Linked DNA regions of Homo sapiens: regions 1, 2, 3, 5 and 6 are each linked to region 4. Evidence: promoter capture Hi-C in 16 types of primary human blood cells and fetal thymus (Javierre and others, 2016). All regions are on one chromosome and are shown on one strand. The core of a region is centred on a gene start or on the middle of the fragment in contact, and the rest is flanking DNA. Distances in the headings are between cores, read along the strand shown.

The links. Contacts are between HindIII fragments. The CHiCAGO score rates a contact against its expected background, and 5 or more counts as called.
Region 1: a contact is called between the fragment with the promoter of FHOD1 here and the fragment with the promoter of RIPOR1 in region 4, in 1 of 17 cell types (endothelial precursors). The highest score is 7.0, in endothelial precursors.
Region 2: a contact is called between a fragment that was not itself captured here and the fragment with the promoter of RIPOR1 in region 4, in 2 of 17 cell types (naive CD4 T cells and endothelial precursors). The highest score is 6.7, in naive CD4 T cells.
Region 3: a contact is called between a fragment that was not itself captured here and the fragment with the promoter of RIPOR1 in region 4, in 1 of 17 cell types (endothelial precursors). The highest score is 5.7, in endothelial precursors.
Region 5: a contact is called between a fragment that was not itself captured here and the fragment with the promoter of RIPOR1 in region 4, in 3 of 17 cell types (erythroblasts, endothelial precursors and M2 macrophages). The highest score is 5.3, in erythroblasts.
Region 6: a contact is called between a fragment that was not itself captured here and the fragment with the promoter of RIPOR1 in region 4, in 1 of 17 cell types (endothelial precursors). The highest score is 5.7, in endothelial precursors.

What each region holds. Positions count from the first base shown.
Region 1 is chr16:67,245,691-67,249,860 of GRCh38, forward strand. FHOD1 (formin homology 2 domain containing 1) reads right to left here and starts at 1,791. Exons shown (of 22, transcript NM_013241.3): 1 at 1,520-1,791. The coding sequence starts at 1,720. It overlaps SLC9A5 (solute carrier family 9 member A5), which reads left to right and starts at 3,289. Exons shown (of 16, transcript NM_004594.3): 1 at 3,289-3,511. The coding sequence starts at 3,325. RefSeq lists enhancers at 1-625, 3,026-3,527, 3,528-4,027 and silencers at 729-828, 1,729-2,098, 2,741-2,830, 2,851-2,940, 3,241-3,350. The HindIII fragment of the contact is 13,502 bases long and covers 1-4,170 here.
Region 2 is chr16:67,909,581-67,913,667 of GRCh38, forward strand. PSKH1 (protein serine kinase H1) reads left to right here. Exons shown (of 3, transcript NM_006742.3): 2 at 1-126. Among named protein-coding and RNA genes, the nearest start is that of PSKH1, 18 kb to the left of the region's middle. RefSeq lists a silencer at 650-862. The HindIII fragment of the contact is 440 bases long and covers 2,310-2,749 here.
Region 3 is chr16:67,822,176-67,826,682 of GRCh38, forward strand. It overlaps TSNAXIP1 (translin associated factor X interacting protein 1), which reads left to right. Exons shown (of 16, transcript NM_001288990.3): 5 at 1,451-1,544; 6 at 2,408-2,604; 7 at 2,962-3,097; 8 at 3,492-3,661; 9 at 3,742-3,901; 10 at 3,977-4,107; 11 at 4,262-4,387. Among named protein-coding and RNA genes, the nearest start is that of TSNAXIP1, 18 kb to the left of the region's middle. RefSeq lists an enhancer at 3,315-4,175. The HindIII fragment of the contact is 2,103 bases long and covers 350-2,452 here.
Region 4 is chr16:67,525,941-67,530,249 of GRCh38, forward strand. It overlaps RIPOR1 (RHO family interacting cell polarization regulator 1), which reads left to right and starts at 2,889. Exons shown (of 22, transcript NM_024519.4): 1 at 2,889-2,974. LOC100505942 (a long non-coding RNA gene) reads right to left here and starts at 2,805. Exons shown (of 2, transcript NR_104656.1): 1 at 2,377-2,805. RefSeq lists silencers at 2,846-2,955, 2,986-3,215, 4,216-4,309. The HindIII fragment of the contact is 8,124 bases long and covers 1-4,309 here.
Region 5 is chr16:67,800,016-67,803,948 of GRCh38, forward strand. All of the region lies in intron 2 of RANBP10 (RAN binding protein 10), which reads right to left. Among named protein-coding and RNA genes, the nearest start is that of RANBP10, 4.6 kb to the right of the region's middle. RefSeq lists an enhancer at 2,134-2,213. The HindIII fragment of the contact is 6,576 bases long and covers 1-3,933 here.
Region 6 is chr16:67,860,702-67,864,757 of GRCh38, forward strand. All of the region lies in intron 1 of NUTF2 (nuclear transport factor 2), which reads left to right. Among named protein-coding and RNA genes, the nearest start is that of EDC4, 10 kb to the right of the region's middle. The HindIII fragment of the contact is 295 bases long and covers 2,574-2,868 here.

The DNA of each region.
Region 1 (4,170 bases), core at 541-3,040, 280 kb before region 4:
GCCAAGATAGCCCCACTGTACTCCAGCCTGGGAGACAGAGCCAGAATCCGTCTTAAAAAAAAAAAAATCGGGGGGGTGGTGTCAGGGCTAGGTCCAATCCTTGAGTTGCAGGATGAGAGGAATACAATATATTCTCTAGTGCCCCACCCTTATTTCAGGATCCGGACTTTAGGAGCCTGGAAGCGGGAACCAGTCTTAGTTCAGCACTCCTGTCTTCCCAGCCCCCATCCTGAATGGGAGGTGGCCTCCAGCTGCACACGCTTCTTCCAGGCACACCTCAATTTGCCCCTCTGAATAGGGCAAGAGAAGCGGGGGCTGAGTCAAAACTGGCGGTGAGCAGTGTCCTGCATCCTTCCAGCCATGGCCTTGAAGCCGGGGTTCTGGCCTGGACACGTGCCACTCTCCAGGCCAATAGTCTCACCACCCCTCCCGCCAGCGCTCAGAGGCGGGGCTGGCCGCAGCGCGAGGAATGCGGGCTGGGGGCCCGGGGCACATTCCAGGGAAGACCCCAGGCCCAAGGGGCAAGTTTACGCAACTCGCCGCCCAGCTGAGGCTGGGAGCAGGGGAGGGCACCCACCCCGACTCTCTCTCCTCTTCTCCAGCACTGGAGGCGGCCGGGCTGGTGGGGAGCTTGTGGAGGTGGTAGTGCGCCTCCCAGAGTCCTGGCCCGGAAACAGCGCGCCGGAAAGGGCTGCCTGCGGGGGGCTGACGGCGGCGAGAGGGAGGGGAGAGGAGGTAGGCTGGCCATCTGGAAAAGGGCCTCTTTCCGCACTGTGCACAAGTCCGCTTCGGGGCGGCAGCAAAGTAGGGCAGGCCGGCTGTTTAAAATTAGTCCGGCCCTCCCTCTCACTTTCAGGCGCGGGCCGATGGGCGGCGAGTGTCCGGGGGTGGGGGCGGGAGCGGTGACTCAAAGGGCTTTTACACCCGTGCAGCCTCCTGCGCTCTGCGGATCCCGGGCCAGACCGCTTCGCGGGGACTCCCCTCACCCCGTGAAGTCTCTCCTCGGCCGGCACTCCCATACTCCCATTGACCTACAGGGTCAAGCCCCAATCCAGCTTCCTGACACCGCAGGAAACCTCTGCCACCTCTAGTAGTCCGCCTCGGGCCCGCCCCTCCTCGTGGTCCCGCCCCCACCTCACCTGAAGCAGGTGGAAGCTGGTCCCTCCCCAGCTCCGCCTCCAGGGTCCGCTACAGCCCAAGCGGCTACCGTCACTCTGACCAGGGAAGCCACCCTGGCAGACCGACGGCGAGTGGAACTCGAGCACCTCCCCAGGTGCGCCTAATTCGAAGGGCAGTCAGAATGGCGGAGCCAAGTTCCTGGCACCCCTCTTCAGTTTCCCCTCAACTTGAGAGGGGACTCCCCCGCAGGCGGGGCAGAGTGGACCCTGGGACCCCAGCCCAAGACTTTTCCGGAGAAGAACACTCGCTCCAGCCTCTTCCCGCGGAGCACCTCCCACCAGTTTTCATGGCGCCCACCCTGAACCCCCGATCGCCCCAACCTTTCTCCGGCCTCCCTCACCTTGAGCGGCGCTCCCAGCAGGCGGTGCACCGCGGGTATCTGCGCGCCCAAGGGCAGCGCCCCGTCCAGGCTGCAGGTGGGGGCCCGGCGCGGCTCCGGAAAGTTGGCACATGCGAAGGGGTCGGTGTCTTCCAGGTACTGCACCCTCACGGTCACCACTGATACCGGCTCTCCGTCCCCGCGGTCTTCCCCGCCCGCCATGGCTCTGCGGCCGGCTCACGCAGCGCGCCTCCGAGTCCCGGCCCCAGTGCAGCTTCTACTCAAAGCACACTGTAGCTCCGCGGTTCGGGCCCGGCCGGACCGGACGCGGCTGGAGGGGCGGGGCCAGACGGAGGCGGGGCCGAGGAAGGGGGTGGAGCCAAGATTAGTCCCCGAGTGCGCGCCAGGAGGTAACCACTGCCGGAGGCGGGGCCGCCGCTAGCCACTCACAGGGCCCAATGGGAATCCCGTTAGTTCACTGGCTAGGAGGGCGGGAAAAACCGAGCTCGCGCCCCACCTTCGAGAACGCGCAGAAGGCGGGGAGGCTTTCTTTGGTCTGGGGATAGTGAGGCTGCGTTCTCTTTGAGGGGTGTTAGGGCAGATGGGGCAGAAGTTTCTTTAGATAGTGGCCGGCCAGGTCTCTCTCAGTTGAGGGACAAGATAGCCCTCATTCCTTCCATTTGAGGGGTGAGTCCCTGTGGTTTCCTCATTTAGGGAAAGCAGTGAGAGGGGGTCCCTTCAATTTGGAGCAAGAAGTGAGAATAAATTCCACCCAGTTTGAAGGAAGAGGTGGGATCAGTTCCCTTTAGTTGTGGGAGGAAGAGGGAAGGATGCCCTTCAGTTTTCTGGGAAAAGATTGGGAGGAGTCAGTTTGAGGGGGCAGATAGAACACGTTCCCCTCAGTTTTGGAGAAAAAGTGGGATGGGTGCCCCTCAGCCTGAATGAAAAGTGGAGACGGTCCTCCTCTGTTTGGGGCGCTATGAGCCGAATGCCCCTCAGATTTGGAAAAAGTTGGGTGCATCTCGCCTAGTTTGAAGGGAATCAGTAGGCTGGGTTTTCCATAGGTTCCTGTCAGCTTCATCAAAGAGATGAGACAGTTCTCTGTAGTGTGACTGAAAGGGAGGGCCAGGTGCCCCTTGGTTTGGGAGATGAAGAACAGCCTCCCTCTTCGCCTGGCACGAGCTGGGCCAGTCTGGGCCTTAGGGTTTCTGGGACGTTGGGGGCAGCGTTGTCCGTCACTGCTTTGGGGAGCGTCCAGTGCGCGTGCGCAGCTCAGGTCCGGGTGGGGGCCGGCAGGGGGTCCTGGGCTTGGCAACGTGGGCGGAGGGCGGCCAAGCACGGTCCCCTGCGTTTTGCACCCGGCCGCGCCTTGGTCCCAGGGGGGTGCTGCTCGCCGCACAGCAGCGCTGGCCGAGGAGGAGCCGTGCCCCTCCCGTCCTGACCGCGCCCCCCGCAGACCCCCGCCCTTCCCGCTGCGGGCTGCCCCAGGGGGGCCGTGGCCGCGCACCGCTCTGGATCTGGTGGGGGCGGTTTTGGGGAGGTTTGGGGGCGCGGACTCGAAGGAGTAGGTTGTGGAACTTGGGGGAGAGCTGCACTGGGGAATTTCCGGAGCTGGGACTGATTTAGGGAGGAAAGAGGAGAGAGTCCCCGACTACGAGAGTCCGAGGCAGGGTCTCGGAGCCTGGACCTGGCTTGGGGGTATCGGAGCCGGGATTGGGGGGAGCGGGCCCCACGTGCCTGTGACGCGGGGGCGCCCGGTAGGTGGCGGCGGCGACGCGGGGCCGGCGGCCGTGCGGTGCCGGGAGGGCGGCTGGGCAGGCGGCAGGATGCTGCGCGCCGCCCTGTCCCTGCTCGCGCTGCCCCTGGCGGGGGCGGCCGAAGAGCCCACCCAGAAGCCAGAGTCCCCGGGCGAGCCTCCCCCAGGCTTAGAGCTCTTCCGCTGGCAGTGGCACGAGGTGGAGGCGCCCTACCTGGTGGCCCTGTGGATCCTGGTGGCCAGTCTGGCCAAAATCGGTGAGTGCGTGTGTGCGTGCGCCAGGCCGACCGCCAGCGGCGGACCCGCCCCCAACACCCCCACCTCCTCGGTCCTCAGATTGGGGCTGGCTTCTTGCACGGTGCTGGGACTTAGGTTTGGATTCCACAAATCCGGGCTCTCGCCCAGTTCCTGCATCGCTTCTTGTGGGTCCCAGGTCCCTGTCTTCTCCCCTGGGAGCTCTGAGGATTTGCCTTTCTGAAGGGCTGTCCCCCGCTCTCCCCAACTCCATCTGTAGGCTCCTTTGCCCTCTCCGCTCCCCTCTTCCCCTTGCAGTAGGCCCTCTTCAGTCTGGTCTCTCCCCCACCAATCCCTAGCCTCCCAGAAACCTCTGTCGCTGGTGAGGATGTGTGGGGACATTGAGGGGAGGGTGTTCTCCCAAGAACACAGGCATCCTGGTTCTGAAAAAGCAGCCTTCCCTGGAGACCATGTCCGAGTGTCCATTCCCTTGGGAAACTACACTGCCACTTTTCCTCCAGCTCTCCCCTGCTCCCCACTTAAAGCTGCTGCCTTCTTGTGCCTGTGTATGGGTACCCCCCCAACCCACGTTCAGGTCCACATTCTTCTCACTTCAGGGTATAAGAAACTTCCGTGTATCGGGGCCTTCCTGTGTGCTGTCTACCCTAGATGCTTTCATACA
Region 2 (4,087 bases), core at 1,280-3,779, 380 kb after region 4:
GTGGACATGTGGGCGCTGGGCGTCATTGCCTACATCCTACTCAGTGGCACCATGCCGTTTGAGGATGACAACCGTACCCGGCTGTACCGGCAGATCCTCAGGGGCAAGTACAGTTACTCTGGGGAGGTGAGTCTGTCCTGCCCCTGTCCTGGATGTTGGGGAGGCACCTGCGGGGGCAGGTATATCCTGCAGCTCTCAGTCAGAGGTATGTCCTCAGGGCCATGCTCGTGAGGGCCAGGCAGGTCATATAAAAGGGACAAAGTGAGACTATCAGAATGTAGTTTGGGTTCCCTCAAGGTGAGCCCTGAGACAAGGACTTGGGAGCAGATAGTTTATTTGGGATGTGATTTGAGTAACTAAAAGTGAAGGAGTGGGAAAAGTGAGGCAGGAAGGGAGAAAGTCAGTAGAGTATATTGAGAAATGGACTGCCACTGTGGGCCACTGGGAACCTTGGTAATAACCATGTGGAATGTGCCTCATAGTTGTACCACCAAAGAGCAGGAACGTGAGTTTCTTTTTGTTTTGTTTTTTTTTTAATCCACTGACTCCTGTACTTCATGGGTTGAGAATTTCTTTGAGGACACTAAATCTCTGGTGCTTCTGGGCTGTCCTGATACCAACTAGTGCTAGAGAAAGTCTTCAGGCAGAGAAGCAGAGAGATGCAGGCACTGGCGGTGGGAAGCTGTTGCCAGGCACCAAGCAGTGTGCCACAGCTGCAGATGAGCTCAGGGGGTGGGCTGAGAGGATGTGGGCAGGGCCTTCCCAGCATCTGCTCTGTGGGGCCCCAGCCAAGCTAGACTGAACATGCCCATCTCAGAGAGCAGCTTCTCATCACTGTCCAGTTTCACCACACAATGAGGACCTCGTGTGTCCAGATCTGATTTTTTTTTAGAAGAGAAACCAGAAAATCTGATCTTTTATTTTTTGAGATGGAGTCTTGCTCTGTTGCCCAGGCTGGAGTTCAGTGGCACAATCTTGGCTCATTGCAGTCTCCACCTCATGGGTCCAAGTGATTCTCCTGCCTCAGCCTCCCAAGTGGCTGGGATTACAGACCTGGGATTACAGGCCCGCATCACCTCCCCCAGCTAATTTTTGTATTTTTAGTAGAGATGAGGTTTCGCGACGTTGGCCAGCCTGGTCTCGAACTCCAGACCTCAGGTCATCCGCCGGCCTTGGCCTCCCAAAGTGCTGGGATTACAGGCGTGAGCCACTGCACCTGGCCAGAAAATCTAATCTTAAAATGTTAGAATATTCTGATTCACATATTTAAGCAGCTTCTTGTGCGCCAGCAAACACTAACCTGCAGGTCACATTCAACCGCCAGGCTGTCAGTTTGTGTCTTTGGATCCATTGATAGTCCTGATGCCTCCAAAAATGTGTGAGGTTTCAGCACTGTTGGGAGCTGATGGAAGGTACAGAAAAAGTGAGGGCTGGTTGGTCCTTAGGAAGGATGCTGACTGGGTAAAAGACAAGGCTGACTGCAGGAAGCAGCAAGCATGGCAGCTGGAGCCTAGTGGTGTGCTGGGAAGGCTGTGAAGAAGAGAGTCTGTGTCGGCTTTATGTGGGAGGGAGGTGAGCTTGGCAGGATGACAAGATTTTGCCAAGGCAGTGAGAACCCCCTCTTCTAGGGGGCTCCCCATAGGGTGTTTCCTTCAGATATGGACCTGCTGAGGTGCTATCCATGCCTCTTGTAAATCTTCTGTGGAGGGGAAGGAGCTCTGGAAGCAGCTTCCTTCTGTGGCCCAGCTTTCCTCCCAGGGGTGTGGGCTGGGCCTTTTCTGGCCCCAGCCAGCATTTCCTTCAAGAGTCACCCAACAGCTGGCCAGGTGCGGTGGCTCACGCCTGTAATCCCAGCACTTTGGGAGGCCGAGACAGGTGGATTACTGGAAGTCAGGAGTTCAAGACCAGCCTGGCCAACATGGTGAAACCTCCTCTTTACTAAAAACACAAAATTAGCCGGGTGTGGCAGCGGGCACCTATAATCCCAGCTACTCGGGAGGCTGAGGCAAGAGAATCACCTAAACCCAGTAGACAGAGGTTGCAGTAAGCCAAGATTGTGCCATTGCACTCCAGCCTGGGCAAAAAGAGTGAAACTCTGTCCCCCCCAAAAAAAAAGAGTCACCCAACAGCCTCACACCACTTACTTTGCCTTTAGCACTTGAGGTCCTGTGCTGTATCACCTTCCCTGACAGCTTCTGGATGTGGCTATGGGGTCCATCGGGGACTTCCTCCTGCTGGGGAGGGGGCTGGCATTCTCTAGGGGCATCCCCATGTCATGCCTCTCAAAGGTGGCACAAGGAAGGGAGGGAAGCTTTCCTCCTGAGGCTGACTCTGTCACAGGCACAAGGGAGGGTATCTGTTTGTACCACTCTTAGGAGATCGTTGCGTAGGAGTCAGGCAGGTGGTGAAGATTTATACCAGTAACTGGGATCTGTGGGCCTAGGGGTGAAGGGGCCACTGTAGACCACTAGATGCTTACTGCAGAGTGGTCAGCCTTGTGGAGAACTCAGTCCTGGCCCACTGTCATTCTCAGATTTTATGTGGACAGGTGGGTTCTGCAGAAAATCTGGCTGTCACATGCTTATAGCACTGAGCAGTAAATGGGACCATACTGGTACTGAATGAGAGCCTGGGAAGCCAGAGAATAGTCCCTTATACTCAGTTAAAAGTCAGGAGTGCCCAACAGTGAATTAACTGTTACACTCGGGACCATTCCAGTCTAATTAGATTTGACTCAAGGCTCAGATAAAGCTTTGGGTTTGGTTCCCAGCATCATCATGGCAAGTGTGAGCTTTTGGTGTCTATGGAAGGCACTGGGAAGAGTGAGAGGAGCAGGCACAGGTGGTGATAGAGGGAACAATTTAAAGACAAGCCCCTTTATCCTGATGATGATCCCCTCAGTAACGTTGGGGCAATGCCTTGATGTTTACTTGGTTCTCAGATATGGATTGGCCATCAGGTTGGCACAATCTGTGGCTATAAACTGGCAATAAGAAATCCTCTCCCAGCCGGGTACGGTGGCTCACGCCTGTAATCCCAGCACTTTGGGAGGCCAAGGTGGGCAGATCACCTGAGGTTGGGAGTTCGAGACCAGCCTGACCAACATGGTGAAACCCCGTCTCTACTAAAAATGCAAAATTAGCCGGGCGTGGTGGCACATGCCTGTAATCCCAGCTACTCGGGAGGCTGAGGCAGGAGAATCACTTGAACCCATGAGGCAGAGGTTGCAGTGAGCCGAGATTGTGCCATTGCACTTCAGCCTGGGCAACAAGAGCGAAACTCTGTCTCAAAAAAAGAAACAAAAAAAAAGAAATCCTCTCCCAGGCTGGGCATGGTGGCTCACATTTGTAATCTCAGCACAGTTTGGGAGGCTGAGGCAGGAGGATCACCTGAAGCCAGGAGTTTGAGACCAGCCTGGGCAACATAGCGAGACCCCATCTCTTAAAAAAAATTTTTTTTAGCCAGGTGTGGGCACATGCCTGTAGTCCCAGCTACTCAGGAGGCTGAGGTGGGAGGATCACTTGAGCCCAGGAGTTCAAGGTTGCAGGGAGCTGTGAATGTGCCACTGCACTCCAGCCTGTGTGAAGACGGAGTCTTGCCCTGTTACCCAGGCTGGAGTGCAGGGGTGCGATCTTGGCTCACTGCAGCTTCCGCCTCTCAGGTTCAAGTGATTCTCCCGCCTCAGCCTCCCGAGTAGCTGGGACTACAGGCATGCGCCACCACGCACGGCTAATGTTTTGTATTTTTAGTAGAGATGGGGTTTCACCATGTTGGCCAGGCTGGTCTCAAACTCCTGACCTCAGGTGATCTGCCTGCCTTGGCCTCCCAAAGTGCTGGGGTTACAGATGTGAGCCACCACACCTGGCCAAGACCCTGTCTTAAAAAAAATTTTTTTTTTTAAAAAGCCTGTCCTGGTGTTCTGGGATAGAGCTATAAAAGCATGCCAGGTTGCTGGCAGGAGCTTGAAGGAGGTGCTGCCTCTGCTTACCAGGAGACCGTCTAGCTGTGAAGTGAGTGGCTGGAAGGAGTGATTGCTGGGTCCCATTCTAGCGATGTCTGTCCTCACCTCCATGCAGAAAAGTAAAGA
Region 3 (4,507 bases), core at 151-2,650, 290 kb after region 4:
GGCTGAGGCAGGAGAATGGCATGAACCTGGGAGGCGGAGCTTGCAGTGAGCCAAGTTCACGCCACTGCACTCCAGCCTGGGCAACAGAGTGAGACTCCATCTCAAAAAAAAAAAAAAAAAAAGAAAACGCCAGTGAGCAGGCAAGGCTGCAATGTGGATCCAAAAGTCTCCTGAGGCTGGAGTTTCCTCACCTGAGTCAGGTGGCCTGGATGCTGTGCCCAGTCCCTGCAGCTCTGTGATCCCCAGTACCCAGGTTGGGCCACTGGACATCAGTGAACGTAGCCTGAATGCTGGCAGTTGGGCAAGCAGGGGTCACACCGTGTTTACCAGTCCAGTGGCAACAACCCCAAGCTTAAGGAACCAGCACAGATGCATAAGGAGGGAGGGAGGAAGAGAGAGAGAGAGAGAGAGAGAGATCAGATCCAACCCAGATACCAGTGTATAGTAGGGAGAGAATCACCAAATCTGCTTAAACAAGGATGATGACAGAGAATCCCTGCCTTTTGACTTAGTCATTGACTAAAGCATTTACTGAGCACTGGCTATGTGCAAGTGCAAGGCCCTGGGCTGGGGCCTTACATCGATCTCCTGAACAGATAAGGAAGAAAGCATACCACTATGGCGTAGTGGGGCTGGGCTTCAAACTCAGGGCTGACTCTGGAGACTGTGCTCATTTCAGTGAGCAATGCTGCCTCCAGAAACCTCCCATGTGTCCAAATGGGACAGAAGACCACACCCCTACTTGCATGTCAGGATGCAAGGGTACAACCTTCAATCTCCTGAATCTACCAGGCTCTAAGATGGGGAGAGGTTACAAGTGAGAGGCCAATGATGCAGTGTCTAGAAGGCAAGAGGCTGGCTGCCTGGAGAGCCAGAGAGGGGCTCAGGCACAGAGTGGATGTCTGTCTATGGTCATGGCAGTCCACTAGGCCTCAGAGACAGCATCAGGACAGGCCTCCAGAGAGCTGCCCCCCAGGCTCCGTGGCACTGTGAGGTACCCGGGTGGTATCTAGGGCATTTACTTGAATATAAGTGACCTGGCAGCCTCATGCTGGAATACTGCTAAGCCCAGTAAAGAAAAAAACAGTGCCAGGCACAGTGGCTCACACCTGTAATCCCAGCACTCTGGGAGGCCGAGGTGGGTGGATCACGAGGTCAGGAGATCGAGACCATCCAGGCCAACATGGTGAAACCTCATCTCTACTAAAAATACAAAAATTAGCCAGGTGTGGTGGCGCGTGCCTGTAATCCCAGCTACTCAGGAGGCTGAGGCAGGAGAATCACTTGAACCTGGGAGGCAGAGGTTGCAGTGAGCTGAGATTGCACCACAGCACTCCAGCCTGGGTGATGGAGCGACACTCCGTCTCAGGAAAAAAGAAAAAGAAAAACAGTTCCCCACTAAGGTTGGCAGCTGTGGGCTAGGAGATGATGGGTTCCCTTTTCTTGCCAGCCTTACAGAGAGATCTTTGAGTTCTTCATAGAGGACTTCAAAACGTACAAGCCATTACTATCCTCCATCAAGAATGCGTATGAGGGGATGCTGGGTAAGAATGCACCTCCTGCCAGGCGTAGTGGCTCACGCCTGTAATCCCAGCACTTTAGGAGGCCGAGGCGGTAGATCACTTGAGGTCAGGAGTTTGAGACCAGCCTGGCCAACATGGTGAAACCCTGTCTCTAGTAAAAACACAAAAAAATTAGCTGCGCATGGTGGCACACACCTGTAATCCCAGCTACTTGGGAGACTGAGGCAGGAGAATTGCTTGAACCTAGGAGGTGGAGGTTGCAGTGAGTTGAGATCACACCACCGCACTCCAGCCTGGGCAAAAGAACAAGACTCCATCGCAAAAAAAAAAAAAAAAAAAGAATGCAGCTCCCCTCCTTGTCCCAGCCTGGAAGGGGTGGAGAAGATCCTATTCGACCTTCTGGTGCTCCACAGCAGGGCTGGGGCAGCTACCAACTGGGCCTTGAGGTCACCAAGGCCCCTCAGCCATTCTGCACAGACTGTTCCATGATAGGGCACCCCAGAGCACCTGACAACACCTGTCATTGAGAAGCACAGGGGGGCAGTCCCTGTTGAAAATGGAGTGAACCCCAGGAGAGAGTCAGCACCTCTGGGAGTCAGCAGGCTCCCCTGCCAGGCTCAGGAGGTGCAGGGCATGGTGCAGCTGCAGGACTTAAGGCTGTAGGGGAAAGGACATAGGAGAGACCCCGGTCTTCATCTGAACTCTGCCCTTTGTTTAAAATCAAGTGCAGGAAGGCCTGAAACAGGGACCATGGCTTTGAACAAGGCATGCAGAGATTCTTGGGGTTTGCAAGCGACATAGCCACTCACCCATGACCTTAGGGTGTCTTCTGGCTGTTTGTTCTCCATGGCCCCAAAGCAGCTCTCCCACCTGTCTCTGCTTAGCCCACCAAAGGGAGAAGATTCGGGCTCTGGAGCCCCTGAAGGCCAAGCTTGTCACTGTGAATGAGGACTGCAATGAGAGGATCCTGGCCATGAGAGCTGAGGAGAAATATGAAATCTCCCTGCTCAAGAAAGAGAAGATGAACTTGCTAAAACTCATCGACAAAAAGAATGAGGAGAAGATTTCATTGCAGAGCGAGGTGAATGGAAGTGGTGTGATGATGACCAAGTCCCCGAATTCCTGCCAACTCCACGACAAGGGTGACCCCCTACCCTGCTCTGCCTTTCTACGGAGAGTGACACACTGAGCCACCACCTTCCCCCAGAGCCTTGCTAACTCCACCCTCTGCCCTGCTGCTAGGCTCAGTACTTTCCCCACAGGGGGAAACATTGGCACCTTGCCGAATTCTCAGAAATGGCCAATCTCCTTCTTCTTTCACCTTTCCTGTTCACAGTCCCTGATGGGGCCCCCCAGAACCCAGCCCACTCCCTGGGGTGACCAGCTGCATACAGGGGTCCAGGGGCAGCCCCTGACCACACAGCCACCTTCTTGCCAGGTGACCAAACTGAGGAAGAACTTGGCTGAGGAGTACCTGCACTACCTCAGTGAGCGAGATGCCTGTAAGATCCTCATCGCAGACCTGAATGAGCTGCGGTACCAGCGGGAGGACATGTCATTAGCCCAGTCGCCAGGTAAGCCTGAATTGGGAATCGGGTTTCTCTCTTCTCTGAGACGCTGGAAGACTCTGGTCTCACCCCTAAGCCCCATTCATTCAGCATTCCTAAGACCTGCTCATTCCATAACCATTCAGAGGGGAGATGTCCCTGCCTCCCGCAGGGCTGTGTATCTTCTGAGTTGAACTGAGAATTGTAGGAACACAGTTGGTAGCTGAGGCAGCCTAGGCTCCCAGTGGGCTGGACAGGCCTGGTACTCAGTTTCCTGGGCTTCTAGACTTTAGCCTGAAACCCTAGGCTGGTAGTGCTGTGGGCAAGAACCAGGGAACCCCAAACAGGAAGGGCAGAGGGCTTCAGGCAACCCCTGAGAAAGCCACGGTGACACGGGCTGGTGGGCCCCTTCCCCTGGCAGGCATCTGGGGGGAGGACCCTGTGAAGTTAACCCTGGCTCTTAAGATGACCCGGCAAGACCTGACCCGCACGCAGATGGAACTCAACAACATGAAGGCCAACTTTGGAGATGTGGTCCCCAGGAGGGACTTTGAAATGCAGGAGAAGACCAACAAGGATCTTCAGGAGCAGGTGCTGGCAGGCAGGCAGGGCCAGGAGGGTAGGACGGGGTCTCACAGGTGGGGGGCCAGGGCCAATGTCCTTGCCCACAGCTGGACACCCTGAGAGCCAGCTACGAGGAGGTTCGCAAGGAGCATGAGATCCTCATGCAGCTGCACATGAGCACGCTGAAGGAACGGGACCAATTCTTCTCTGAGCTGCAGGAGATCCAGCGCACTTCCACGCCGCGGCCTGACTGGACCAAGTGCAAAGGTGAGGGCAGCCGGCAGGGCCCCAGGTCCTGCTTACATGTGGGCCCAGACTCCAGCTCCCTCTCCCCACATGCAGATGTGGTGGCTGGGGGCCCAGAGCGCTGGCAGATGCTGGCTGAGGGCAAGAACAGCGACCAGCTGGTGGACGTGCTCCTGGAAGAGATTGGTTCGGGGCTGCTGCGGGAGAAAGACTTCTTCCCTGGTCTGGTAGGGGAGGCCCCAGGAGTGGGGCTTGGGCCAGAGTCAGAACAGCCATGCCCTGCTGCTCAGACAAGCTTTTGGGGAACCAACTGGGGATCTTCCCTGATTGGGGGTGGGGCCACAGATGGGTCCAGAGATGAGCTGATATCCTCCCTCCTAGGGCTATGGGGAAGCCATCCCTGCTTTTCTTCGGTTTGATGGCCTCGTGGAGAACAAGAAGCCAAGCAAGAAGGACGTGGTCAACCTCCTCAAGGATGCCTGGAAGGAACGTCTTGCTGAGGAGCAGGTCAGATCTCACCAGCCACTCTGGCCCAGCATGGTCTTCAGATCCAGAGTCCTCTGCAGGTCCAGAGGTGACAGGGATGAGGGCCAACCAACCGTAAGACTCTGACTGAGCATTTCCTCG
Region 4 (4,309 bases), core at 1,639-4,138:
GTCCTCCCCTGTGCTTAGCTCACCAATTGTTAGGGAGAGGCTTTGAAAGCCACCAGGACCCTGTGACCCTCGGAGGGATGCTGCCCTTCCCTCGAGGCCCCTTGGATGTGGGGGAAGAGCCAGGTGAACTCCCAGGTGTTCCATTTAATCACTGCAGCGCCATCTGTGCCTGGTCTGGTGGTCACAGGCCTGGCCATGGACAAGGACAATAGGCAGTAATGGGTGCTCAGAGGACACAGGTTCCCTGGAGGAAGGGACATCTGAGCTGTTTTCCAAGTGGATGAGGGGGAGAAGCATCCTAGGCAGAAGGGAGGCTGGGAAAAAAGGCAGAGGCCAGAGGGTGGAGGCTGCATCCAGGGAGCTGCAGGCTGGGAGTGTAGTGGAAGCCAGATCACAGGGGCCGCAGAATAAGTGCAAGATAAGGAGGTGAGGTCATCTGAGGCCAGATCTCCTGGGCCTTGGAGGCCCTACCACATAGTATGGACTATCTTCTGGAGTGGGTGGGCATGGTAGGGGGAGGGAATTAATTCAAAAGATGTTAAGGAGAAAGAAGCAAGAGGACTGGGCAGCTAAAGGAAGGTGAGGGCAGGAGAGGGGGATGCCAAGGGCTCATGCATTTACACGTTCAGTTACTTGCTCATTCAACAAATATTTCTTGAACTCCCACTATGAGCCAGGCACCTTGATGATAAGGACTTCTGTGGTTCCTACCCGCACACTACTTAGAGACAACACAGTCAGGCAGGGTCAGGCCCATGAGCACACATGGTGTGCACACTGCTGCCTGGCCATGGTGAGCAGTATGAAAGGAGTCAATAGGAGGCTGGAACAGAGGGTGTCTGCAGAGAAAGTACTCAGAAGATGCCTGGCTGAGAGGTGACTTTAGGGGTGGGCAGAGGCCAATTGGTGCCAGCTTTGAGAACTCCAGAAAACCCCAGTCTCTAGCTCAGGTGGATGCCTGGGTAGACAGTGGTGCTTTGTAGGGATGGGGACAATGCTGAGGACTGGTGAGTCAACCAGAAAGCAGCCAGGGGCTCTGAAACAGGAGAGGGCTCTGGGCACAGAGGGAAGTTTGGGATGGTCAGCAGTGAATGGATGGGAGCCCTGAGACTGGATGATATTTTAGGGTAGGGTGAATAAAGAGAAGAACTCAGCCCCTGGAAGTCATGCCCAGGTTTAAGGACTTCAGAGAAAAGGGCACTGACCGGCCCAGTGGCTCATGCCTGTAATCCCAGCACTTTGAGAGGCCAAGGTGGGTGGATCGCTTGAGGCCAGGAGGTGGAGGCCAGCCTGGCCAACATGGTGAAACCCCATCTCTACCAAAAATATAAAAATTAGCCGGGACATCTCTACCAAAAATATAGAAATTAGAAGGCGGAGGTTGCAGTGAGCCGAGATCACGCCACTATACTCCAGCCTGGGCAACAGAGGGAGACTCCGTCCCCCAAAAAAAAACAAAAAAGAAAGAAAGAAAAGGGCACTACAAAGGAAGCCCAAGAGGAGGGGCTGGAGAGTGGAGAACTGTGAGGCAGAGGTGGCTCAAGCCTGTAATCCCAGTACTTTGGGAGGCCAAGGTGGGAGGATCGCTTGAGCCCAGTTAGAGACCAGTCTGAGCAACATGAAGAAAGCCCATCTCTAAAAAACCGACCAAACAGGCTGGGCGCGGTGGCTCATGCCTGTAATCCCAGCACTTTGGGAGGCCAAGGCGGGCAGATCACGAGGTCAGGAGATCGAGACCATCCTGGCTAACATGGTGAAACCCCATCTCTACCAAAAATACAAAAAATTAGCCGGGCGTGGTGTGGGCGCCTGTAGTCCCAGCTACTCGGGAGGCTGAGGCAGGAGAATGGCATGAACCTGGGAGGTGGAGCTTGCACTGCATTCCAGCCTGGGCGACAGTGACACTCTGTCTCAAAAAAAAAAAAAAAAAACCCGACCAAACAAAACCAAGCAAACAAGCAAAACACACAAAAAAACAGCCCTCAGGACTGGTGGGGGCGGGGTACAGATATTCAGGGACCTCTTACTGTCCCTGAAACCATTCCTGGGTAGGTCTGACATACATGAGGGCTGCGGGAGTGCAAGGCCTGGAGAAGCCTCAGGGGTGTCCAGGTTGGAAGGGCCAGGGGTGTCTGATTGATGGGAGGAGCGGGGGAGTGGAACTGGCCCTTTGACCCCAACATGGGGTCGACTCTCAGCCCCACCTTTACCGACTGTGTGGAGGGCCAGCATTCTAGCCCCGGCTTTGGAAAGGACTGGGTTGCCCAACACATGGCCCTGTACCCGGACCCTGCCAGCGTCCCCACCCCAAGACTGCCCGAAAACCAGTACCCAATGAGTGGGGAATGCATGACCCGGCTATGAGCCTGGACTTACCAGCCAGACAGTGGCAGAAAGGGCGGCCTGCCTCTACAGCGACGCTGAGGCTGGCTGAAATGGCAGGGCTGAAGGGCAGCGTCTGGACCCAGAAGGTGCCAGGCGGCTTCTGGACTCCCCAAGGCCTTCACAACAGCCCTGGATCCTTTCCACCAACCAGCCTAAGCCAGCAGTAGCAGCTCCAGGACCTGTTTCAGGTGGTCACGGACAGGGGGCCCGCAAGGTCTCCAGAGCCCGAGGGATCTGGGGAGGGGACAAGCAGGCGGGGCTCCCTGGCGCTCACCGTTTTAGGGTCTGCGTGAGAAAGCCTCCCTCACATCCCCCAGGGTCTGCCCTCCCTGCAAGCTGGTGGGCTGCGTGGGCCACCGGCCTGCCCCGTTATCCGAGAGGGCGGAGCGAGCCGTGGGCGCCTCTAGGGGTGCGGGAGCCGCGGGAGCGCAGGGGGTGGGGCCCGGCGGGCCAGGGGAGGGGCGGCGGGGCGGCGGGCGGAGGGAGGGGCCGGCGCCTGCGGCGGCGACAGCGGCAGCTGCGGCGCGACCAGGCCGGGCACCTCCGAGCGCAAGGACAGCGCGAGGTCCGCGCAGCCCAGCGCAGCCATGTGAGTGTCCCGCGCCGTTTCCGGGGCTGCAGGCCGGGCGGGGAGCAGGCGCGGAGGTTCTGGTGCCCCCCCGCCGGCGCCGCCCGGTGGGTCCGGGATCTGCGGCTCTGTCCCGCCTCACCCCATCTCCCGGACCCCGGCCGCGCCTTGTCTTTCCTCCCCTCCCCCCGGGCGTGGAGAACGCAGCTTCTCCCACAAAAGCCGCCGCCTCCGGGCCTGCAGAGCCTGGCGCTGCTGCCTTCCTCCCACGGCAAGGCCCTGGCGGCCGGTGCCCCGGGGCGCTGGGATGGGCCAGGCCAGAGAGCGGGCTCAAGGCGCCAGCCTGGGCCCTGGCACGCGCGCTCCCTGGGAGCCCTTGCTGCCTTCGCCGCAGGGGAGGCTGGGCTGGAAATGGGGAGGGGGCGACGAAGGGTGCGGGCCGGCCTAGGAGCTGAGCTAATCCTCCTAGCTCTAGGGGCCGGCCTAAGCGGCTTTGTGGCCGGCCCCGAGGTGACCGAGCCTGGGCTGGAGCCGGGCTCTCCGCCCAAACCTGGCGTAGCCGAAGCCGGAGAGGATCGTCCTTGTCGGGGAACGGAGCTTTTCCCTGGAAATGGAGGTTGGCGCAAGGTTCCTGCAACAGCCGGGCCTGGGCTCTCTGCAGAACTGGTTTGGGCAAGGGGCTGCTCACCAGGGCTAGAGGTCGGATTCAGTCCAGATTCAGCACCCTTTGTCCTCCTCTCCAGGGTGAGCCCTGAGTCCGGCCTCCCCTACAGACCCTCCCCAGCCAGTTCTAACGTGTGTCCAGGCTGGCCGCCCCAGCACCTACTGTGCGCAGCCTCGTGTAACAATACTTGTGCCCTGGCTGCAGTCTGCGGGGCCGCGCCCTGGGCCTGCCGCATTCGGCCAACGCACAGCATCTGAGGAGGGTTATGACCATCTGGCAGATGCAGAAACAGGCCCAGAGAGGTTAGTAGTATTCTCAAGGTCACACAGCTGGTTTGGGAGAAGCGAGGATTAGATCTGAGTCCTTGCCCCTGCGACACCCACCTCCGTGGTATTGGAGGGAGGAGAGGAATGATAATTGGGGGCTGAGGTACAAAATACTCCAGCGGGACAAGGAGGACTGGCATAGCTCCTTCTTCCACCGCCCTCTCCGGCTTGGGTCCTGTGACTGCGGCGGGAGAGAGGAGCAAGGTGAGCCGCCCCAGGGGTCTGGGTTTGGGTGCGGGTGAGGGGAGGACTCAGGACTCTGGGCTGGGTCCCGCTTGAGAGAAGCGGGCGGGGAGGGCGCGGGTGAGTCACGGCGGCCCCTCTGCGTCGCCGCTCGGACTCAGCCCTGGCCAGGCCCGGCCCGGG
Region 5 (3,933 bases), core at 431-2,930, 270 kb after region 4:
GAGGGTGAGGCAGGGGAATCACTTGAACCCAGGAGGCGGAGGTTTGCAGTGAGCCAAGATTGTGCCACTGCACTCCAGCCTGGCAACAGAGCGAGACTCTGTTTCAAAAACAACAACAACAACAACAACCAAAAAAAAAAAACAATGGGTACTGCGCCCTGGTGTCTGGAATGAATGAATGAGTGCACTGCTGCCTGGCCAAAGGAAGTCAGCTGCAGGAGCAAGGGAAGGCTGGCTGTGGTCAGAGACCCCTGCTCTGGGCCTGGGCCCAGACACTGGCTACAGAGGAAAATGCCCCCACCCCTCTCCATGCCTTCCAGTGCTCTAGCCCAGGCCTACTACTCTTGGGTAAAGCAACCATCACATGTCAGGAGGCCTCCGCCGCTGGGATGATGTTACAGTCTATTTTGAGGGTCACACTGGAGCATCTGTCAGCCTAGCCAGCCACACCCTCCATGTGTCATCACTAAGAGCCAGGGACACCCACAGGTCCATGAACTCTGCCTGCAGACATTGCTCCTCCCCAGGGACCCTCAGCTTCAGGCCCTCCTTCGCTTCCTAGAAAGACAGACCTGGATGCCCCTTATCTCCTGGCACCACTGGCAGTGCTCTGATGTCTCCTCACCCCACCAGACCCGCTCCCCGAGTTCACAGCTCTGGTGACTCGGCAAAATGCAGTTGAAGCCCATCAGTCTGTGCCAAGCTCTTAGCTCAAACACAGCCCCTCCTACTCCACAGAGCTCTCTTATACTTGAGGAGTGCCCAGAAAGCCTAGCACCCAGAAGTCAAGCTAGTTACCCATCAGACTCATAGGTCTAACAGGTCTCGCCTACTGGGGAACTCCTACTCATTCCTCCCAACTGTTCCCAGGCTCTGCCTCCTCTTGCAGAAAGACTTTCAGTCCACTCTCTACTGAATGGGCCACAGGCTTCCTGAGGACAAAGCTGATCTGTGCTGGCTTTACATCTGTTCTCCCTATACCTAGTATAGGGCCTGGAACATAGTAGGTATATATAAATATTCTGTGAAATCTTGACATGAAACTTTCCTTATTAGACTAGCTTAGTGTGTTCTTCTCCAAAAGATATTGTCAAAACAAAGGACGTTCTGGAGAACAATGACACTAACAACTGGGTTTATAAATACCTTTTACAAAGGAGGTGTACTCAAATCTACAGAAAAGCAAGTTTACAGATTAAATGGAACAGTAAGTTGATCAAGCCCGGCCCAGAGCATGCCACAATTCTCTGGCCCTACACAGCACCATGCACCTTTCAGCTCTGTCCCCTAACATTGCAATCTGGTAGGAATCCAACAGAACATTCCTTCACTCTACCCAGGGAAGAAATGCAACAGCTACAATGGGGAAAGGCAGCAGCAGCATGGACATGTGTGTCTAGGATCAGGCGAGGACATCTGATAAGTCAGGCTACTCCACTGCACACCCTAAGCCCTGCAGCCAGGGTAGGCCACCAAACATCCCAGGGACTCAGGGCTCACTCACAAAATGGGAAGGTAGATGATCACCTGCTCTAGCCACTTGCCAGAGATGCTGTGAGGATCAAACTAGGTAACACAGGAAAGCTAGACAACCAGTTAATGCTTGGGTCATGGACTAAACCAGGATAAAAAACACACCTCCAAAATCCATGGGAGGCTGACAATGGTGGCTCCTGCCTGCAATCCCAGCACTTTGGATCACTTTGAGGCAGGAGGATCACTTGAGGCTAGGAGTTGGAGACCAGCCTAGACAACACAGCAAGATCCCATCTCTATAAAATAGTTAAAAAAAAAATCAGCTGGGCATGGTGGCTCATGACTATAATCCCAGCACTTTGGAAGGCTGAGGTGGAAGAAATACTTGAGCCCAGGAATTCAAGACCAGCCTAGGAAACATTGTGAGACCCCATCTCTACAAAAAATAAGAAAATGAGCCAAGCATGATGGCACACACCTATAGTCCCAGCTACTCAGGAAGCTGAGGTGGGAGGATTGACTGAGCCCAGGAAGTTGAGGTGGCGGTGAGCTGTGATCATGCCATTGCACTCCAGCCTGAGCAACAGAGCGAGACCCTGCCTCAAAAAAAAAAAAAAAAATCTACAAAAAAAGGGAAATGAGCCAGTTGATGTCTGCCTGCCCTGTGTAACTGCCTTTGGCCTCCTCAAAACCCACCTGGCCCATACTAACATGTGGCTGCATCCCAGCCATGGGAAGGCTTTCAGGGATTCCATAAAGAGACCATGAGGAGCTATTCATACTCTTGCCATCTGACAGTGGTCAACTGAAGCAGGATACCACAGGTATACATGACCTGAGACCTTTCTAAAACTGATGTTTCCTTGCTGGGCACCATGGCTCATGCCTGTAATCTTAGCACTTTGGGAGACTGACGCAGGTGAATCACCTGAGGTCAGGAGTTCGAAACCAGCCTGGCCAACATGGCGAAACCCCATCTCTACTAAAAATACAAAAATTAGCCAGGCGTGGTGGCGTATGCCTGTAATCCCAGCTACTCGGGAGGCTGAGGCAGGAGAATCACTTGAACCCAGAAAGTAGAGGTTGCAATGAGCCGAGATTGAGTCAATGCACTCCAGCCTGGATGATAAAGGAGACTGTGTGGCAAATAAATAAATTAATTAATTAACATCTGATGTTTCCAGATCAGCTCAACAGCCATGTTTACCACATGTAAAATGCTGGGAATAGATGCCCACCTTTCTTTAGACTTCCAGTCAACACCTATAGTTCACCAATCTAACATGACACAGCAAGATCGACTAAAACTGAAATGTTAAAACCAGTTGAAAGAATCCAGATCTCCAACATAGCCAGACCTCATCTCTCAAAAAATACAAAAAGAAAAAAAGAATCCAGGTCTCTAAGTGTAAACACTTCCCTTCTGAAGTTGGTCTCTGCTCTCTACCTAGATAACTAACTCAGCTGTTATCTATGATAAAGACTAGGAGAAAACAATCCATTTTCCTCCCTACAAATTTAAGAAGTGCACTTCAGTTTCTGTGGCAGTATGAGACTCCAGCACCACCATTTTAGTCAACATTATTTTCAAGGTGCTTGTTTTAAGGGGCTATTCTCATTCACACTAGTTCAAGCACACTAAATATATGTGCTTCTATCAGACGGTGGAAGGTGAAAATAGGAGCTTTGAAGCCCTCCCATAAATTTAACTTTCCTGTCTGTAAACGCACTAGATGGGGATAAAAATGAAAGATGGCCGGGTGCAGTAGCTCATGCCTGTAGTCCCAGCAGTTTGAGAGGCCAAGGTGGGAGGATCACTAGAGACCAGCCTGGGCAACATAGCAAGACCTCATCTCTACAAATAATTTAAAAAATTAGGCTGGGTGCGGTGGCCCACACCTGTAATCCCAGCACTTTGGGAGGCCAAGGCAGGCGAATCACCTGAGGTCAGGAGTTTGAGACCAGCCTGACCAACATGGAGAAACCCCATCTCTACTAAAAATACAAAATTAGCCTGGTGTGGTGGCACATGCCTGTAAGCCCAGCTACTCAGGAGGCTGAGGCAGGAGAATTACTTGAACCTGGGAGGCGGAGGTTGTGGTGAGCTGAGATTGCGCCATTGCACTCCAGCCTGGGCAACAGGAGCAAAACTCCGTCTCAAAAAAAAAAAAAAAAAAAAAATTAGCCAGGCGTGGTGGCATGCACCTGTATTCCCAGTTACTCAGGAGGCTGAGGTGGGAGGATAACTCGAGCCCAGAAGGTCGAGGCTGCAGTGAGCTGTGATTGTGATCTTGCCACTGCACTTCAGCGTGGGAGACAGAGCAAGACCCCATCTCATTAAAAAAAAAAAAAAAAAAAAAGAGAGAGAGAGAGAAAGATACAGCAGCTTCCCATGATCAGAATTTCAGAGGCATAGAATTCTGGAGTTCAGGCAGCTTAGATGCTGGCCTGGATCCT
Region 6 (4,056 bases), core at 1,471-3,970, 330 kb after region 4:
AATTTTGGGGCCCTCACTGTAGGCCATGCAAATCTGCTGGCATTCCCTGTGGGCTTCAGCAGACACATGAGAATCTTTCTGTGTGCCAGTCTGGAAGGAGTGATAGCGTCTTCTCGATCACTCTCCTGCCTCAGGCTAGGATCTCTGTCTGCTCTGTCTGCTTTGCTGAGATGGTAGAACAGGGTTGTGACCTCGAAGGTTTGAGAAAGCTGACATCATCCTCCATGAAAACTCCTGTTGTTTGGACTCTAGGTTTGATGTGGAACTCTTCTGCCTGAGGCCTTTGTTTGGAGGTGGAAGCCCTGGTTCAGGACTGCCTTGCCCCTTTCTGAGAGAGCCAGGCTCAGAGGAGTGCTCTCACTGATGTAGTCTGTTCTTGTCTCCAGGCCCACGTTGTCACTAGAAGTCCTGACTCTGGAGAGGCCTCCAAATCTGGTCAGTCCAATTCCACCACCTATCAGCTGCTGACCTAGAGCGAGTTGGAGTTGGCTAACCTCGCTGAATCTCCTTTTGGTCATCTCTAACAAGGGGGTTGACTCACAGGGTGTGGTTACAAACAAGTGCACATAAGCTCTTTGCACATTTCTGTGCCTCATATGCATTAGTGAAAATGAAGTGTTCACAGCCAGACAGTTATTTTGAGTTTTGTTCTTGGAAACACTTAAAATTGGAAGATAAAAATGGAGTTTTTCTGTTGTCTAACGGGATCTCCTGGGTCAGAGGTTTTAACCTGGGATCTATGGCTGAACAGTTGAAAATTATTCACAAGGCTGGGGCATCTCTACCTCTGTGCAAATGTGTTGGGAGAGGGCCACAGTTGCTGAGACATTCTTGGAGGGTCTTTGCACTCACAGAGACCTAAGGGTCAGTGAAGGCTGGTGTTCAGTGGGTGAGAGGTCATCAGAGTCTTTTCTGCTCCTCAAGGAGCCTGGCCTCAGCCTGCGGACTGTTGGGGTGAAGCAGGAGATGGTGTGGTCAGCGGCCCTCTCACAAGAGCTGTAGGAGAAGCTGTCATGATGGTCAGTCCCCAGTCTAATGTGAGGCTGCCTCTGAGCCCGGGCTTTTTTGTTTCCAGCCTGTTACTTGCACAGTAAATGTGTTAGAAACAAGATCAGAGCTTGCTGGCTATTCTGGGGAACATCTTCCAGCCTGGCCTGGACCCCTCCCTCATGTTGCATGGGGATAGGATGGGGGCTCTGCACTCTTGCTTCTTTTTTTGGACTCAAGAGTGTTGCCTCCCGTGGGAAGGGTGGGGATCGCAGGAGGGGACTTTCCTGTGTACAAAACATGGTGAGCAGGCTCTCGGTAGGTTCTGTTGTGTCTGTATGTAGCTGGATCGAGGTAGGAGGGAATGGCTTAGGGAGATGGGGATGAGGGTGGATGGCCACCTGTGGAGCTTAGGGAGTTTGGCCTTTAAGCCAAAAGCAAGGGTGTTTGTAGGGGAGGAGCATGGTCAGCTTTGTGGTTTAGAGCTCAGGGATGCAGAGTTAGCAGAAAAAAGAGACGGGCCTTGACCAGAGGACCCAGTGTCAGCACTGATGTACCAGGTGAGCTTAGGGCAAGACCCAGCGACATCACTGGATGACAGTGGATTCTGACTATGTGGCTGTTGTGATCACTACTTGGAAATAAACACAAGACAGTGAAGCAGGCCTCAATCCCACATAGTTTTGAAGGTTCCTTGTCATTTTCTGGGAGCCCCTGATGTGTCCTATTCCTCAGAGAGCTTACTCTTCCCCACTCTTCTCTGCCCTACCAGGCCAAAGGGTCTTTCTCTTCCTTTATCCCTCCACCCCATTTCCTTCCACCACCACTTCAGTCAAGGAGTTTTTGTATCAGAAAGTTATCACAGGCCAGTTATGGTGGTGCACGCCTGTAATCCCAGCACTTTGGGAGGCCAAGCTGGGTGGATCACTTGAGCTCAGGAGTTTGAGACCAGCCTGAGCAATATGGTGAAGCCTGGTCTCTACAGAAAACACAAAAAGCAGCCAGACGTGGTGGTGCTTGCCTGGAGTCTCAGCTCCTTGGGAGGTTGAAGTGGGAGGATTGCTTGAGTCCTGGAGGTCAAGGCTACAGGGAGATGAGATGGCATCACTGTACCCTGACCTGGGGGACAGAGCGAGACCCTTTTCATGCCCCGGGACATTTGCTGGTGCTGTTTCTTCTGGTTGGCATACCCTTTCTGAGGACTGCCCAACTTTGCTCTGAGCCAAGGGTAGAAGGAGATGTGGCCCTTATCCATTCCTCCAGCTTTTCCCCTACCCTCAGAGCTCTTAGGCAGTGGGTATGGCACCTTGGAAGCTGCAGCAGGGTCAGGGCACATTGAGTGACTAAGCATAGCAAGTACCAGGTGGACGGGGCAGAAATGCCAGAGGTGGGAGCTGTGCTCTGCCTTAGGTCCTCTAAGTTTGTGTGTGAGTACAGCCAGTGTCTGACCTCTTGGAAATGTGACCAAGACCACAGTGAAGACTAGATGATGGTCCTGTGCTTTCCCCACTTGTTGATTTCTTTCTTGGCAGAGTATGAACTAGGACACACCTTGTGTTCCTGTGTGGCAGGCGTGACTGGATCCAAGCTTTCTCCCCTGCTTGCTTTAGATTTTCCTGGACATTTCTTAGTCATCCCAGCACTGAGCTTCTATTTTTAGTGCCACTACCTCCTAGGGGACCTAAAATAAAGCTGGCTTAGCTTCCTGCTCCCTCATTGGCTTGAGTGTTGGTCACAGAGCGGAGGATTGGCTGCGTTCTCACTCTTTCCCTACACGATTCCTCCCCGCTGGCTCCTCTGGCTTTGGGCGAGGTCACACGGACTGGAGTGAGCTAGCACTTACCATGTTGAGCTGAGGGCTTTATCATGTTCCTTTAGAGAAGCTTCACAACCACCGGCACTGTCAGGTTGCCATCCCCATCTTATAGTGGAGGAGGCTGAGGCCCTAAGAAGGGCAGTGACTTGCATCAGATCCCACCACTGCGAATGCTTGTCTGCTGGGGTGGAACCCACCTCCTCACTGCTTTGGTTCAGAGTCCTATTATCAGGACAGAGGGAGTGGGCTCCTCTACAGTTGGGGCCATCCACAGAAAAACATGTGGGTCTGCAGTCAGGGGATCTGCAGCAAGATGTGGGCTTCCCTACTTGGAAGCAGCCTAGCAAAGCCCAAGCGGCTCTCCCATCTGGGGCTTGGGTTTTCCATCCAGTATCCTTACAGCCATGGTCTCTAGTTGGGAGGGGGCCTCCTCTCAGAGACCCGAGAGAGACAGCTCCTTAGGGTAAAAGCAATGCTGGGATGAGGGGATATGAAGGGATGACACGTTTCCCTTCACAGCCTCCATCCCCTCTTCCCACAACCCTCAGCTTTCCCTCTGATCCTTGAACTCATGTCCCCAGCTCTGAAGTGGGTAGGAGTCACTCCCATCAATGAAGAAATATCCTAGAAAGGGCCAGGTCAGGTAATCACCTGGCCTCGGGGAAGTAAACTGCCCCCATGAGACTAAGGGATCACTTGCTGTTTTTGGCAGAGGAGGGCCCTTGGCTGGGTACAGTGGCTCACGCCTGTAACCCCAGAACTTTGGGAGGCCAAGGCGGGTGGATCACTTGCAGTCTGGAGTTCGAGACCAGCCTGGCCAACATGGTGAAATCCCATTTCTACTAAAAATACAAATTAGCTGGGTGTGTTGGCAGGCGCCTGTAATCCCAGCTACTCTGGAGGCTGAGGCAAGAGAATCACTTGAGCCCAGGGAGCGGAGGTTGCAGTGAGCCAAGATCACGCCATTGCACTCCAGCCTGGGCAACAAGAGTGAAACTCTGTCTCAAAAAAAAAAAAAAAAAAAAAAAAGAAGAGGGGCCTTGAGAATCTCCCCACATCCTCACTGGGTCTTCCATCTGTCAGCGTAGCCCTGGGACAGTGTTGGGGGCCTGAGGGCTGTAGTACAAAATAGTACACACACACAGGTATCAGTTGTTCTTGGCTGTAAAGTGGGAAGAATAGCAATAACTCTGTCCTTGCAGGTTGTTGAGAGGATTACATGGAAAGATACTGGAGGAGTGCTTAACTCCTCC